Linked DNA regions of Homo sapiens: regions 1, 2, 3 and 5 are each linked to region 4. The links are contacts of gene promoters, found by promoter capture Hi-C in blood cells and fetal thymus (Javierre and others, 2016). All regions are on one chromosome and are shown on one strand. Each heading gives the region's core, a stretch centred on a gene start or on the middle of the fragment in contact. The rest is flanking DNA. Distances are from core to core; before and after follow the strand shown.

Region 1 (2,700 bases), core at 160-2,659, 610 kb after region 4:
TCTTCAAATAGTCTATTATTAAATTTTTGAATAAAAGCCAGCAAAGAAAATGCACTTACCAAATTGTGCAGAGAAAAACATTTTCATGAGCTATCTCTTAGGAGTTGTTGTTTCTTGGTGGTAAGTTCCTTCTCATGAGTAATAGCTGAAGCATGGAACTCAATTTTTCAGGGAATATTTCTACAATCAGTTTATGAAGCAAATTTATATCAGAAAAATTAGATGTCAAATACATCCCATATAATACTGTTGGGGCTCAGAGAACAATACCCCAAAGAGTGGCACTTTGGCATGCTGAGTACTTTGAACCAAAGAAGGAAGTACTGGAAGGGCTCAGAAGCAGCCTCAGATGCAGTCTCCCTCTGACCTTCTCCTACCCTCCTGTCTCCCTCTCCTTTTTCTCACCCAAAGCAAGTTATAGAAACCAGAATTTCTCTTCCCCATGGTGAGTGTATTCGTCTGTTCTCACACTGCTATCAAGAGATACCTGAGACTGGGTAAATTATAAGAAAAGAGGTTTGATTGACTCACAGTTCCACATGGCTGGGGAGGCCTCAGGAGACTTACAATCATGGCGGAAGGCACCTCTTCTCAGTGCAGCAGGAGAGAGAATGAGTGCCAGCAGGGGAAATGCCATACATTATAAAACCATCAGGGCTGGGCGTGGTGGCTCACACCTGTAATCCCAGCACTTTGGGAAGACAAGGTGGGCAGATCACCTGAGGTCAGGAGTTTGTGACCAGCCTGGGTAACATGGTGAAACCCTGTTTCTACTAAAAATACAAAAAATTATCTGGGCATGGTGGCACTTGCCTGTAATCCCAGCTACTCAGGAGGTTGAGGCAGGAGTGAGCCGAGATAGCACCATTGCACTCCAGTTTGGGCAACAAGAGCGAAACTCCATCTCAAAAAATAAAAAATAAAAAAGTAAAACCATCAGATTATGTGAGAACTCACTATCATGAGAACAGCATGGGGGAAACTGCTCCCATGATTCAATTACCTCCCACCAGGTCCCTCCCATGACACTTGGGGATTATAGGGATTAAAATTCAAGATGAGATTTGGGTGGGGATGAAGCCAAACCACATCAGTGGGTCATAGAAACTAGAACCACATCAGTGGGTCATAGAAACTAGACCCACATCAGTGGGTCATAGAAACTATCCCAAAGGCAGCCATAAAACCTAGAAACATTATTCTAACCTTAACCTACCTTTCAGTATACCAGTTGGCCATAAGGAAAATGTCTAATCTACCTTGTCTTATAGTAGATAATAAGACTCTCATTCCAGAGGGGCCCTGCTTCATACCCAGGAGGAAGGAACGCCACACAGAAAGACAGAGAAGAATCTGAGCAGCGATGCCTTGCTGGGTTTCCCTCCTCAGCCTATTACCGTAAGATCATTCCCTTTTGTCCAATCACATTTCTGCATAGCTGTCTACTCTTCAATGAATATAAGCATTAAAATGGACTGTTTTACCTGGGTCTTTGTTTCTGAAGTACCCCGTGTCACGATAAACTTTGATTACATAAATTTGTTGTAATTTTTTGCCTTGTTAATTTGTCTTTTGTTATAGGAATGTTGGCTGTGACCCTTATGATGGGTGAGGAAAGGTGTCACACCTGTGCCTCCCCTACATTACTAATTAATTCAGGAATTATCTACATTTTACATTCACTAATTCCAATCAATCACACAATCTATGTAAAAAGAACTCTAAGTTTTATTTTGTTGCTCATGTTTACAGAATTGCTACATTAATTTATTAATTTCAAAATTTTAAACAATTGTTTAAGCATAAAACAATCACGTTCTCTAGTGAAAATCTGTGAGTTACTTTTAATAAGACTAAACAAAAAATTTATAAATTTTATTTAAAAATGAGAAAAAGAATCCAATAATTTTCATCATTCATTTAAGGTTCTGATATGGAACTTTGAAAAAAAATCAATTTATACATTCATTTCACTCCATACGTCCAAATTAATTCCATAGAAATTAAAATATTGAATATTTTTAAAATGTAGAAAAACTAGAATAGAATATAATTGAATATTAAGTTTTAAGGTGTGAGTGGTACTTTCAGAGTTCAAAAGTGATAGAAATCATAAAGGGAAAGGTTAACATGTGTGGCTTCAAAAATTAAAAATTCTGTCCATCAAAAATGACCAAAATTAGCAAATTAAAAAATAATTTAATAAAAAGATGTAGAGGACAAAAAAATATTTCCAGCTACCCTTCCAGGTTCTTTGGCTGGTCTATGGATTAAACTGACATAAGAAAGATCAACAGGAGAAAAACAATTTTAATTATGTCCATAGAGGAGTTCAATAAAAATGTAAGACTCACCAGATAATTTAAACTTACATATCATCCTGACCTACAGAAAGGAATAGGAGTTTAGGGATTCTAGGTAATGGTAGAGGAAAATTATGGGAGGGCAAGCGGAGGAAATGTATTGTGAATAGAGGTTGCCTTGTTAATCAAGTAAAAGTCTCTCAGGTGATACAATTGTCACGTATCTTTACTAATGAAAATTTCCTTATGGGTGTAAATTCCTGCACACAAGGGAATTTTTATGTTTTATTTTAGGAAGTTGAAGGAGAGAAAGAGTTTTTCTTGCTTTGGCTGGCTCTCAGTTATTTTTAGCTCAAAGTAATCAGTATGCCAAAGTGGCATATTTGGGGATGGCCTA
Region 2 (2,700 bases), core at 160-2,659, 790 kb after region 4:
GGTCTGAAATATTTATTCCAATTCTTTTCTCCACCAGCTCCATAAATATTTATTCTATGCCCACTGCTTGTTAGTTTCTGGGATACCAGGCCGATGAGGCAGTCTCTTCCTCTCCTCCTTTGAGCAAGCTTGTGCTTGCAATCCTGTATAAGAAATAAGAGGAGGGCAACAACTTGTATCTTGTGCCTTCTACACATGCCAACCATAGCCTGAAGTTCACAGCAAAGTTAAATTCCAGTTAAGTAAACCAGTGAGGTCATAATACACTTAAATAACAACTGAGACGTGAGAAACTAACAGAGATCCTCAGTAAGTGTGTCGGTCACCTCTTCGCGCGAGCAGGGAGATCAGATCGAGAGCAGGACCTCCTCGCCAGTGATTTGGAATGATAAATGGGGAAGAGAAGGGGGTGAAGTTACCTGGGCGCTCAGGTAGACTTTGAGGCACTCCTCGCACACGGCCTTCTTGCAGCAAGGCAGGGGCTTGATGGGCTTGTCTTCCAGGCACACCCGGCACATCAGCACCATGAGGGGCACATAGGGATCCCCTACACCGCCCAGGCCAGAGTAGGGTGGAGCTCCCAACAGGCTGGGCATGGAGAACGGCTCGGGCGCCAGGTAGAACTCCAGCTCGATGCTGCCGCCGTCGGGGGAGAGGGAATCCGTTGGGAGGGACAGTCGGGGGCTGGGGAAGGAAGAGCGGGTGCTGGGAGGGTTCAACACTGGCGGAGCCCCAGGTGGCGACGCGGGCGGCGAGAGCTGCTCCGAGGCGGGGGCCTCGGGCAGGTCGCTCTCCACGCAGTACACGGAGCAGAAGACTTGTCTCTTGGCGAGGGACGGGCGCCGCTGACCCAGCACGTCCAGGACCAGTCCGTCGGCGGCCCCCACGCGGGTCCTGGGCTCCAGCTCTTCGCCGGGGGGCGCCTCCTGCTGTTCATCCCCTCCCTCTTTTCGATCCCCAGCTTCCTCCTCTTCCTCCTCCAGCTCCAACTGCAGTGGCAAGGTCTGGGGATTGAGAGGCCCGGTGAGTGCCAGTCCCGCAGGCTGCGCCGGTGCTCGGCTCTTACTCCAGCCCGGGGGCCCCAGGCTCCTCGCGGGCTCTGGGGCGCTGGTGTCCGCGCAGCCCCAGTCGCTTCCGCAGCCACCGCCGCTCGGCTCCGCGGAGGCGGCGCGCAGCGGGGGCGCCCGGGCGCTGTCCCCCTGAGGCCTCGGGGGCTCAGGGTGGCCCGCAGTGCCACTGGCCAGGGTCTGCGACTCCTGGGGCCCGCCGCCGCCGCTCACCGTGCTCTGCTCCTCGCCCATCGCCGCCCGCGGCCCGCGCCGCCGCTGCCCATCCAGCCGCCGGGACCCCCACCCGGCGCCCGCGGGCAGCGGGGGCAGTGGCTCGGCTCGACTCGCGGCTCCGCTTCTGCTTCCGGGTCCTTCCTCCTGGGCTGGGACGCCCCAAGTCCCCTCCGGGGAGCCCGTGCTCCGAGGCTGCGGCGCGTGGGGAGCCTGGCCCGGCCCGCCGCTCCTCCTCGTACTCTGGCGCGGCGGGGCACCGCCTCGGGGGCGCCGAGGGCCGCTCGCTCTGGGCTCGGGCGCGCCCGCCCCACATGCAGCTCGGGGCGGCGCCGCAGCCCCAGCGAGCCCCAGGCGGGACAGAGGGGTCTGGGAGGAGACGGCCGTCAGTCCCGCGCCATCACCGGTCCCGGCTGCCGGACGCGCGGCCCGAGGGCGGTGGTCAAAGGGTCGAGGGGCCTGTGGCGCCGCCGCGGCGCGCACCAGGAGGTGCAGCCGGAGCGCTGGCCAGCCGCAGGGCCCCTGGGGGAGAGGCCGGAGCGGGCGACCTCCCTCTCCCCGCGCTTCACCTACAGCCCTCCTCGCCGCCCCTCACCCCACCCCTTTGGCGCACACCTCCCCACACGTACACACGCGCGCAGGCACCCGCGCACACACACACGCACACCCTGAGTGGGTGTGATCTAAGAGCTGAGATGCGCTTTCTCGCCCGGAGTTCACACTCAGCCTCAACAAAACCCTCAGAGCAGGCAGGCTCCCCTTTGGTCTCCGCATTCAGTAGAACTTCCTACAAAACTACACTCAGCTCTGGAATTAGTAAACGCTGGCTATTTAGGATGTCGAGTTCAGAGAAATAATGCTAAGGATTATGAATTCTAAATGCTGTATATTACAACTCTGTTTTTCTGCCTAGTGGAGTAGGAAGAATCTTCGAAACCCATAAATAATCGAAAAAGCACTTTCGATCTACTCCTCCAACTGGAATCCTTAGAAGAGTTGATAACTAATTTAAAATTTCTCTCTTTTTCTTCGCCTACAGTGTTCTCTTAGAAGTTTTTTTTTTTAACCCTTTTCAGCATTCCAAAATGGATAGCACAAGGTGGAAAAATGTCCTGACCTAATTAATAAACTGGATCATTAGTGGAAATCATGGGCAGTTTCATTAGCATAACCATATTTATCCTCAAAACTGTTTCCAAAACAACAATTATATGTGAGCCAGGACTTAATTATGTGTTGATCTATCTTTATTTTACAGGAAGTATTACTCACCCAGACACTGGTGTTTTAGTTCCCTAAAGCCAGTGAAAACATTTTTGGGAAGCCAGCCCTTGTTTTGTTTTTTTTCTCCTGAGAGGGAATTCAATTTACACATTCATGTAATAGCAAGGAACTGTAAAGTGTGTAGAATTTTATTTTT
Region 3 (2,725 bases), core at 219-2,718, 580 kb after region 4:
CCTCCCACCTCAGCCTCTTGAGTAGTGGGACTACAGGCATGCACTACCACGCCTGGCTAATTTTTAAAAATTATTATTTTTAGTAGAGACGAGGTCTTGCTATGTTGCCTGGGCTGGTCTTGAGCTCCTGGGTTCAAGCAGTCCTCCTGCCTCGGCCTCCAAAAGTGCTGGAATTACAGGCATGAGCCACCCTACCCAGCCCATAAGAGTTATTTTGAGCTGAAGGCATTTGAGTTCCCGAAATCCTTTATCTGACTAAAAGCAGAGGTTCCCAAAAGAACTCAGCTGTCACAAATTCCTCCCACTGGGAGCAACTCTTTCTTCTCTTCTAGACATTGTCACAAACTGTCATATCTCCCATCTATTCTCCTAAGGACCCATTTATCTTTTTTTTTTTTTTTTAAAGAAGTCATTTGCTCTCTCAATATTGCCTTTTCTCCACCTCCCTTTCCTGTAGTAAAATGATACAGAAAATCAAATCTCATCACTCCTTGGGGTATTCATTTCTTTCTATGACACCCTTGTGCAAGCAAAATTTAAAATAAATAACTTTGTAAGCTTTTTCTCCTGCTAGTCTGTCTGCTGTAAGTTTAATTCACAGGCTCCTAGGCACTTCACCTAAGAGGGTAGAAAAAAAGTTTTTCTTCCCCTCCAATGCTTATGAGAGCCTTCCAATCATTTTAAATAAACTTTACAGGTAGTGCAGGTATCTTGTAACTTCCTGTTGGAACCCTGGGATATCTAAAGAGGAATAACAGGAGCCAAGGTCTATACTTCTTCCCAGGGCTGACCTAACCCTTCAGGAAGAAAAACCATCTTTCCATGACGTCTTTATGTAGAAATGAGTCCATTTTGGAAAACAAAATGTTGGAAAATATTTATAGACAATGAGCTATTAGCTCTTTATGCAGAGAGAAAAATCAGTGAAAAACTACAAATATCCAACCATCAGAGACTTTAAAACTGAGAGATCTGAAGAGATCTCCTCCCACTACCCCCATCCCAAATTGGCTTTTTCTTTTGAATGAATCAGTTCTGCTTCCGTGAATATGCTTGGGAGATGGTTAAATGAATAAAACATATCCATGTAAACAAGTAATTATAATACTCATGAGGCAATAAAAAGCTTTCTTTTTTTGGGTACTCATTGAAATTAGTCCTTTCAGCCAACATCTAAAGGATACAAATCCTACTTTCTGGAAACAAGCACGCAGATCCTATGACTTATTTATTTTAAAATACTGAGATTACTGGGTATGGACGAACACCAAGTAGAATAACATATTTGAACCATTCCATATTTGAACTGACTTTTCCTAGCAGCTGGTGATAAAACTCTATACTGGTTCTAAGAATTACATCTCATGTGACTTTTACGGATCTTTTTAATCTTGAATCAGTTCTGCTTCCATGATCCTTGACAAGACGCTCTTGCTATTAATGGACAAAAGAAATGTCTAATTATAAGAAAAATGTATTTCCAAGGAGTTGAAGAGTTTTCCATATTTTAGATATATGTCAGGGAAACTGTAATTTGTATAAGATACAAATAACCATAGGTAAGTTTGGAGATGAGGTGTAACATATACATGCATTTTTCATGTGTGGTACATGATCTGGCTACAGCAAAGTGCTAGATTTTTGCCTTTTGAGAAAGAAGCAATATGTTGGTGACTAAGGGTATTCTTGGAGATTTGTGGTTTTATTCTGGGAACTTCACTTCCTCTGCATCAAAATGCATCACTTATAAACGATTCACACTGTGAGAAATTGCTTAAAATTCATCTTTCCTTGAGGACCCAAAGCTTCCTTTTAGCCATTTCAAATTCATTAAAATATTCTCCTGCCTTCCCTGGTACATTAACAATGCTTCTCAATTTAATGCATATATTTCAAATCATTACACTTTATTGCTTAAATATTCAATGAAAAGTAGGATGACAGATGTGAATATCCACATTTTGAGGTCACCTTTTATGTGTTCTTAACTGTGTAGTAACTCAGTAAATTTTTTCTTGTTTTACTTTTTTCTTTTAGTTTTATATATGTATACAAAACTATATATATACAGTTAAAATATATATATATATCTTTTTTTTAAGAGACAGGGGTTTTGCTTAGCCTGGGTTTGAACTCTGGAGCTCAAGTGGTCCCACTGCCTCAGCACCTTGATTAGCTGGGACTATAAGCACTCACCACCATGATCAGCTTAACTCAGTAAATTGAAGAAGTGACTGGCTTTACGGTGTTGTTGGGGACATTTCGCAACAGAAGTAATGGTGAACCTCTGCCTGCATGGAGAGCATGCCAGCTGATCAATGACTGAGGCAGATGCCCTCTTTTCTGCAGTTGCTGCTTCAAACCGTGAAAATTCAACACAGAGATGGCTAGAGTCGCTTAAGGACAAATCCATTGATGGCTCATTTTTTTCAACAGTTTTACTAGGTATTTTCTTAAAGTAGTTATTCTGCTAGTATGGTTGGGAGATGGTTAAATGAATAAAACATATTCGTGTAAACAAGTAATTATAATGTTCATGAGGCAATAAAATGCTTTCTTTTTTGGGGTACTCATTGAAATTAGCCCTTTCAGCCAGCATCTAAAGAATACAGATTCTACTTTCTGGAAAGAAGCATGCAGAGCCTGTGACTTTTATTTATTTTAAAGTCCTGAGATGACTGAATATGGATGAACACCAAGTGGAATAACATATCTGAACAGACTT
Region 4 (2,700 bases), core at 7-2,506:
CTGCACACACCAGGTTGCTATTACCTCACCTTCTCACTTCTGGATCTTATTTCTGAATTACCTGTCCCCCTCATTTTCACCCCTTCTTTACGGGTTTCACCTTTCACGTGATAGCTTCTGTTTTTCAGACCTCATTTTTAAAGACGGCACAACAACACTTTAATGATCAGATACTTAAACCTTTGCTTTCGTGTAAATATCTTTGCTCTTGCAGATTTTGTGCTTTGCTTTGTATGTATTAGAATAACAATATGAAAGAAAACCAGTTTTCCAAAGGTAGGAAGAATTTCCCTCTTTGAGTGACAGCTGCAGATAAATAATTAAGGTGCTTCTGGGGATGCCAATTAGAAGCAATTATCATTTGACCCGCCTTGGCTCTAAAATGCCTCGGTAATCTCCCTCTGTCACAGGAAAGTGGAGGTCTGGCTTCTGTGATTACGACGCCGATCTCTTCCAGACTTGAGAACAAGCAGTCAAAGAAATGATGCCCTTTCCGATGCTTACATCTGTCACTCACTCTTGCGTTAGCCAAGTCACACACGGTCAACCTGCAAAGTTCAACCTACGTAGCCTTGACATCGCAGGTTGCTTTAATTCCTCCAAAAATCAAGTTGTGATTTTGGTATCTCTAAAAATCAAAAATCAAATTGTTTTTATTTTCTCCTGATCTATTTTGAAAGTGCCCCCAAATACGGTTTCAGTGGCTGGGACATCGCCTGTCGCCCAGACGCTGCCGTTCGCGCGTCCAACTGTGACAGCCAGGACCCTCCCTCGCCAACTCCTGCGCTCTGCCTTTCAGTGGCGTCTCCCATCCTGGCTACTCCACCCCTACGGTGAAAATCCACATCCCTTGCCCCATCCCAACTCACGCTCTGCGAGCGCCCACCACTCAAACTTTCTCAGGCCAAACTTTCCCTCTCTACCTAGATGCTGCGGAGACCAGCCTCGGGATTTCCAGGGAGCCACGCATTCACAAAGCTACCCCAAGCTCCCGAGCTGCGGGCCGCTCCCGCGGAGCCCGCGCTCACCCCGAGTAATTGTTCTCGCTCCCCACGTCGATGGTCTCGTCCATGTCGCTCTCGGAGGTCGTCTCCTCGCAGGGGCGCTTCATCCCGGCGAAGACCGCGCGGGGCACAGCCCGGCCGGAAGCTCGGACGCCGAGCGGGGCGCAGCACCCTGACGCCCGCCTCCTCCCTCCCCGGGCCTGGGCAGGCGCGGCTCCGGCGGCGGCGCGGTCTGCTCCTAGCGGCTCTTTCCCACGCCGCAACTCTGCTCGGCCGCAAGAGCCGGCGCCGGCCACGCCCCCCCCTCGAGCGGGTGGGGCCACCTCACCCGCCCCCGCGCACCGGCCCAGGCCTTCCGCCCGGCACCTCCCCCTCGCTGGTCGGCGTGGCTCGCGATTGGCTGGGCCAGGGGGCGGGGCCGCGCTCGCCAATGCCCGCCGCAAGGCTCCAGCCGAGGCGTGGGAACGCGGCCGCGGACCTGGTACCCCAGAGCAGCGAGCGGGTGGGGAGCAGCCGGGGCGAGAATGAGCGCAATCTTGCTAACCCCTGCGGAGGGAGCGCGCGGGCGCCAACGCGGGCGCGCGGGGGCGGGCCCTGGACCTGGACCTTGGGTTTCGGCCCTCCTCCGCGCCCCGCGGTCTCGCGGGCGAAGTTTCAGTCCTGAGTGTAAAGAATAACCCCAAGCGCGTGGCTAAGTGCGAGCAGGCGCGTGTGACGTCGGGAGGCGCCGCGGCTCCTCGGCCGCCCCACTCGGTGGTCCCCTGTCTGGATCCAAACTGCTGACTGGCTGACCCGAGTGGTCACATTTGCCCTCTGGGGCTTTTGAAAACCTTAAATCAAAATTGCTTTTGAATCTGACAACTCCTGAGGCTACTTTCGCGGCCTCGGGGCTGTTTCATATAAGGACGCGAGTTTTCCTGATCAGGTCTGTCGGCCACGTTACGATTTCCAATTTGCGATCCATCAGTTACTTCCATTGGGTCTTCAGCCCCCAGGGACTGTGGATCCTAGACCCCGCGGAGAAGCCCGTGGACTGGAGCTGTGTCAGCTCTGATGGTAGGAAAGACTAGATCAATGACGCGGGCATTTCAGGACATAATCGTATATTTTCAAGTTCGAGTTTTTCGGGCTTGGATTATCCAGATAATTGCCTCCAGTCTCCTCCAGTCCCCCTGGTGTATGCACTCGCAGCCGCAGAGTTAGAGTCCGGGAGGTGAAGATTGGCGCTTGGAAATTAGATTTGGTTTCTAAAGTATGAATTCGTGTCCAACAGTTCGTGCCTTGGACAACGTGGGTTGTATAAAACTCAAGCTGTGTGTTTAAAACAGGTTTTCTAGCTGCTGGTTCTCTCCAAGTTATGTAGGACTTTTGAACTGGCCACCCCGCTGTGCGTCTGCGAGGGCAGGGACTGAGCGAGACCCAGCCAGGGGCGCCGGGAGACTGGCGGCGGCTGGGTTGGGGTCCAGCCGGAAACCACACGTTGGCAGGGCCGCTTGGTCAGTAGTGGAGAGAGCCTCTGAGAAAGGGCCGTCTATCGATCCCCAGACCCCTCCGTCACGGAGGGATTCATAGCTTCCTGGGGATCGGCCCAGGGCGTCCCTTTGACACTCCGTTCTCTGTCCACACAAGCCCGGCGCGGGGCGGGGAGAAGAGGAAAGGACGCGACTGGGAAAGACGGGACCCTGGCGGGGTTTGG
Region 5 (2,700 bases), core at 91-2,590, 630 kb after region 4:
AGTGCAAAGCAAATTTAATTTTTTAAAATCAATTAGTCGCTTAAGTTTTTTATTTGCCTTTTGTAAAGTCTTTAAATAAAAATACTGAAATCTTTTTAGAAGCTTCTGCATATCAATAGCCATGCCTACAGGAGACTAATTTGGGAGCCCTCATTTTCAAACGCACTTTAGTGCAGTTTTATTCATTTGGAACATTCCACTGTAAGTTATCTTTAGTAAGATTTCACTATTACTCTAAGACTTCACTACTTCTGGGGCCTAACACTTACGCATGTATAAGCTGGAGGGAACTCAGTTTTCCAAAAATTAAGGATCCCATTTTTTACCTAAAATATTGGTTTTGTTTCTAGGTTCCCTTGATTGACTTAATTAATGATTTTTTTCCTCCTACCTAAGCACACAAGAAAAGTGGAAAAAAAAAAAAGGTAGAACACAAAAATCCCTTTGAATTTTCAAAAGCCAAATTTTTACACCCCCTGCAATATTACTATTTACCACCAGTTTCTTTCTGACCCAGTCAGATGTGCGAGGCCTCTAACTGGATCCAAGTCAGTTAATTACTGGGTCAAATGTGATCCTGGACCCAGTCCAGTTTCTGTCATGACTTCCAAAACCAGTTTGGATCACAAATTTGCTCAAAGAAACTCAGTGAGCTCAAAACACAAATCCGTGGAGCTCTGAAATGCCAGAGAGAACTTACCACAATCCCCAGCTGCTCCAATAGATCAGTGAACACAAATGGGTCCTGTAGGTACTTCACTTGGTCGCTCAGCGCTCCTGAGGGTCGTTGGAAGCTCTACTTCGGATCCCATCCTCATTGCTATCTAATAAAAGAAAAGCTGGGCCAGGCGCGGTGGCTCAAGCCTGTAATCCCAGCACTTTGGGAGGCCAAGGTGGGCTGATCACAAGGTCAGGAGATCGAGACCATCCTGGTTAACACTGCAAAACCCCGCCTCTACTAAAAATACAAAAAATTAGCCGGGCCTGGTGGCGGGCACCTGTAGTCCCAGCTACTCAGGAGGCTGAGGCAGGAGAATGGCATGAACCCGGGAGGCGGAGGTTGCAGTGAGCTGATATCACGCCACTGCACTCCAGCTTGGGCAACAGAGCTAGACTCTGTCTCAAAAAAAAAAAAAAAAAAAAAAAGAAAGAAAAAGAAAAGCTTCAGCCAAATTGTTACAATTGTTAACTAATTTAATGAATGATTCATGAATTGGGCAGCCTTCACAGCCAGAGTAGTCTCTGAGACTCCAGAGCAGCCACATGGTAGATTTATGGACAGAAAAAGGAAAGTGACATGTAGAAAATTGAAGAGAGGTAAAGAAACAGCTGGATTGGTTATAGCTCAGTGTTTGCTTTATTTGAACAGGTTCGAACAGTTGGCTACATTTGACTGGCCAGAACTCGGTGATTGGCACAGGTGTAGGCTATGGTCTGTTTATACCTTCACTTGTTATAGTTCAAGATGTATAGAAACACCTTTAGGCCTGACTTAAAATATGTAGGAAGGAAGCTTTATGCTAAACTTGATTTAACAATTCCTTTATCTGAGGTTATAGTTCTTTTTGAGTTGAAACTTTATTAAGGATATTCTCCCATTTGGCTTTTCACCCTTTGTAATTCCAAGACTTCGCCGCCCCCCTTATTTCTCTCTTCATGGAAATAGGAAACTCTGTATGCCTCCAAGGATCCTTCTTTCTCCAGATACCCGCTGACAGTTCTCTCGGTCCTCATATTTACTTTACTATTTTTTAGTTATCTCTTTTTATGAAAAGTATATTTAACATTTTCAACAATTTAAGTATATATACATTTGTATTTAGTGGAATGGTATCAGGCTGTCTAGTCTATCATATTGTCAGAATTAAAGAATTTAAAATGTTCATTTATAAAATTCAAATTTACTATACTAATATAATATTTTCTCATTCCTAGTTTTTCCTTTCTTATTCTCTAGACATTGAAGAAGTAATAGTTGTTATCTTCAAATCTTACCCTATGGAACTAGGATGCACTGAAAGAGGAACAAAGCAGACACACATCGCCTTGGCGTGTTAATGAGGTGTCAATACAGCTCTTTGCCAAGAATAACTCCTGACTTAAGATGATGCTTGAAATCTTCCTGTGAGTCACTATTCTGGGTACCTTGAAGACAGTTGTTAAAAACCAAATATGTTCTTACAAATTGGTGATATATTAATTCATTGTCATACGTTAATGCATGTTTTGTATAAATTTATGGGATACAAATGCAATTTTGTACATGCATAGATTGTGTAGTGGTCAACTCAAAGGTTTGTATAGCATCCATCACCTGAATAACATATATTTACTCATTAAGTAATTTCTCATTTTCTACCCTCCTTTTCACACCCCCATATGCTAATACCTCAAAAAAAGAATTAAGGACTTGAATTTGGTAAGTTGGATTGAGAAAAATAAAAATAGTGTGTCATTTCAAAGTGAAGGTTCATTTGGAGTGTCTAGAGAATAGAATTTATTGAAAGCAAGAAAGATGGTTCCAAAGAGTGTTCGAGGAATGTTAAAAAAAAACTTTTGAGATATCTTTCATCATTTATAATATGATGGTTATAATTGTAAAAAATTTACAAATGTTAAGGATGATGATTGGGATTTCAAAAATTTAAGAATCAGTATGTTTAATAACAATATCAAGCAGTATTCAAGAACAAGTAAGTA

Evidence for each region. The method cuts DNA at HindIII sites, captures the fragments that hold promoters and counts their contacts. A CHiCAGO score of 5 or more calls a contact.
Region 1: a contact is called between a fragment that was not itself captured here and the fragment with the promoter of HEY2 in region 4, in 1 of 17 cell types (M2 macrophages). The highest score is 6.1, in M2 macrophages.
Region 2: the fragment with the promoter of RNF217 here is called in contact with the fragment with the promoter of HEY2 in region 4 in 3 of 17 cell types (M2 macrophages, M1 macrophages and M0 macrophages); the score reaches 10.2 in M2 macrophages.
Region 3: a contact is called between a fragment that was not itself captured here and the fragment with the promoter of HEY2 in region 4, in 4 of 17 cell types (M2 macrophages, fetal thymus, M0 macrophages and 1 more). The highest score is 7.9, in M2 macrophages.
Region 5: a fragment that was not itself captured here is called in contact with the fragment with the promoter of HEY2 in region 4 in 1 of 17 cell types (M0 macrophages); the score reaches 5.4 in M0 macrophages.

What each region holds. Positions count from the first base shown.
Region 1 is chr6:125,138,422-125,141,121 of GRCh38, reverse strand. No RefSeq gene overlaps it. Among named protein-coding and RNA genes, the nearest start is that of TPD52L1, 14 kb to the left of the region's middle. The HindIII fragment of the contact is 4,047 bases long and covers 1-2,700 here.
Region 2 is chr6:124,961,146-124,963,845 of GRCh38, reverse strand. It overlaps RNF217 (ring finger protein 217), which reads right to left and starts at 1,409. Exons shown (of 6, transcript NM_001286398.3): 1 at 420-1,409. The coding sequence starts at 1,301. RNF217-AS1 (RNF217 antisense RNA 1) reads left to right here and starts at 819. Exons shown (of 7, transcript NR_026876.1): 1 at 819-1,023. The HindIII fragment of the contact is 3,639 bases long and covers 131-2,700 here.
Region 3 is chr6:125,164,451-125,167,175 of GRCh38, reverse strand. The region is part of intron 1 of TPD52L1 (TPD52 like 1); the gene reads right to left. Among named protein-coding and RNA genes, the nearest start is that of TPD52L1, 12 kb to the right of the region's middle. The HindIII fragment of the contact is 679 bases long and covers 1,129-1,807 here.
Region 4 is chr6:125,748,188-125,750,887 of GRCh38, reverse strand. It overlaps HEY2 (hes related family bHLH transcription factor with YRPW motif 2), which reads right to left and starts at 1,256. Exons shown (of 5, transcript NM_012259.3): 1 at 1,029-1,256. The coding sequence starts at 1,111. HEY2-AS1 (HEY2 antisense RNA 1) reads left to right here and starts at 1,463. Exons shown (of 5, transcript NR_183491.1): 1 at 1,463-1,929. RefSeq lists a silencer at 1,038-1,747. The HindIII fragment of the contact is 5,509 bases long and covers 1-2,700 here.
Region 5 is chr6:125,117,389-125,120,088 of GRCh38, reverse strand. It overlaps LOC124901394 (a long non-coding RNA gene), which reads left to right. Exons shown (of 2, transcript XR_007059735.1): 2 at 1,958-2,462. Among named protein-coding and RNA genes, the nearest start is that of TPD52L1, 35 kb to the left of the region's middle. The HindIII fragment of the contact is 351 bases long and covers 1,165-1,515 here.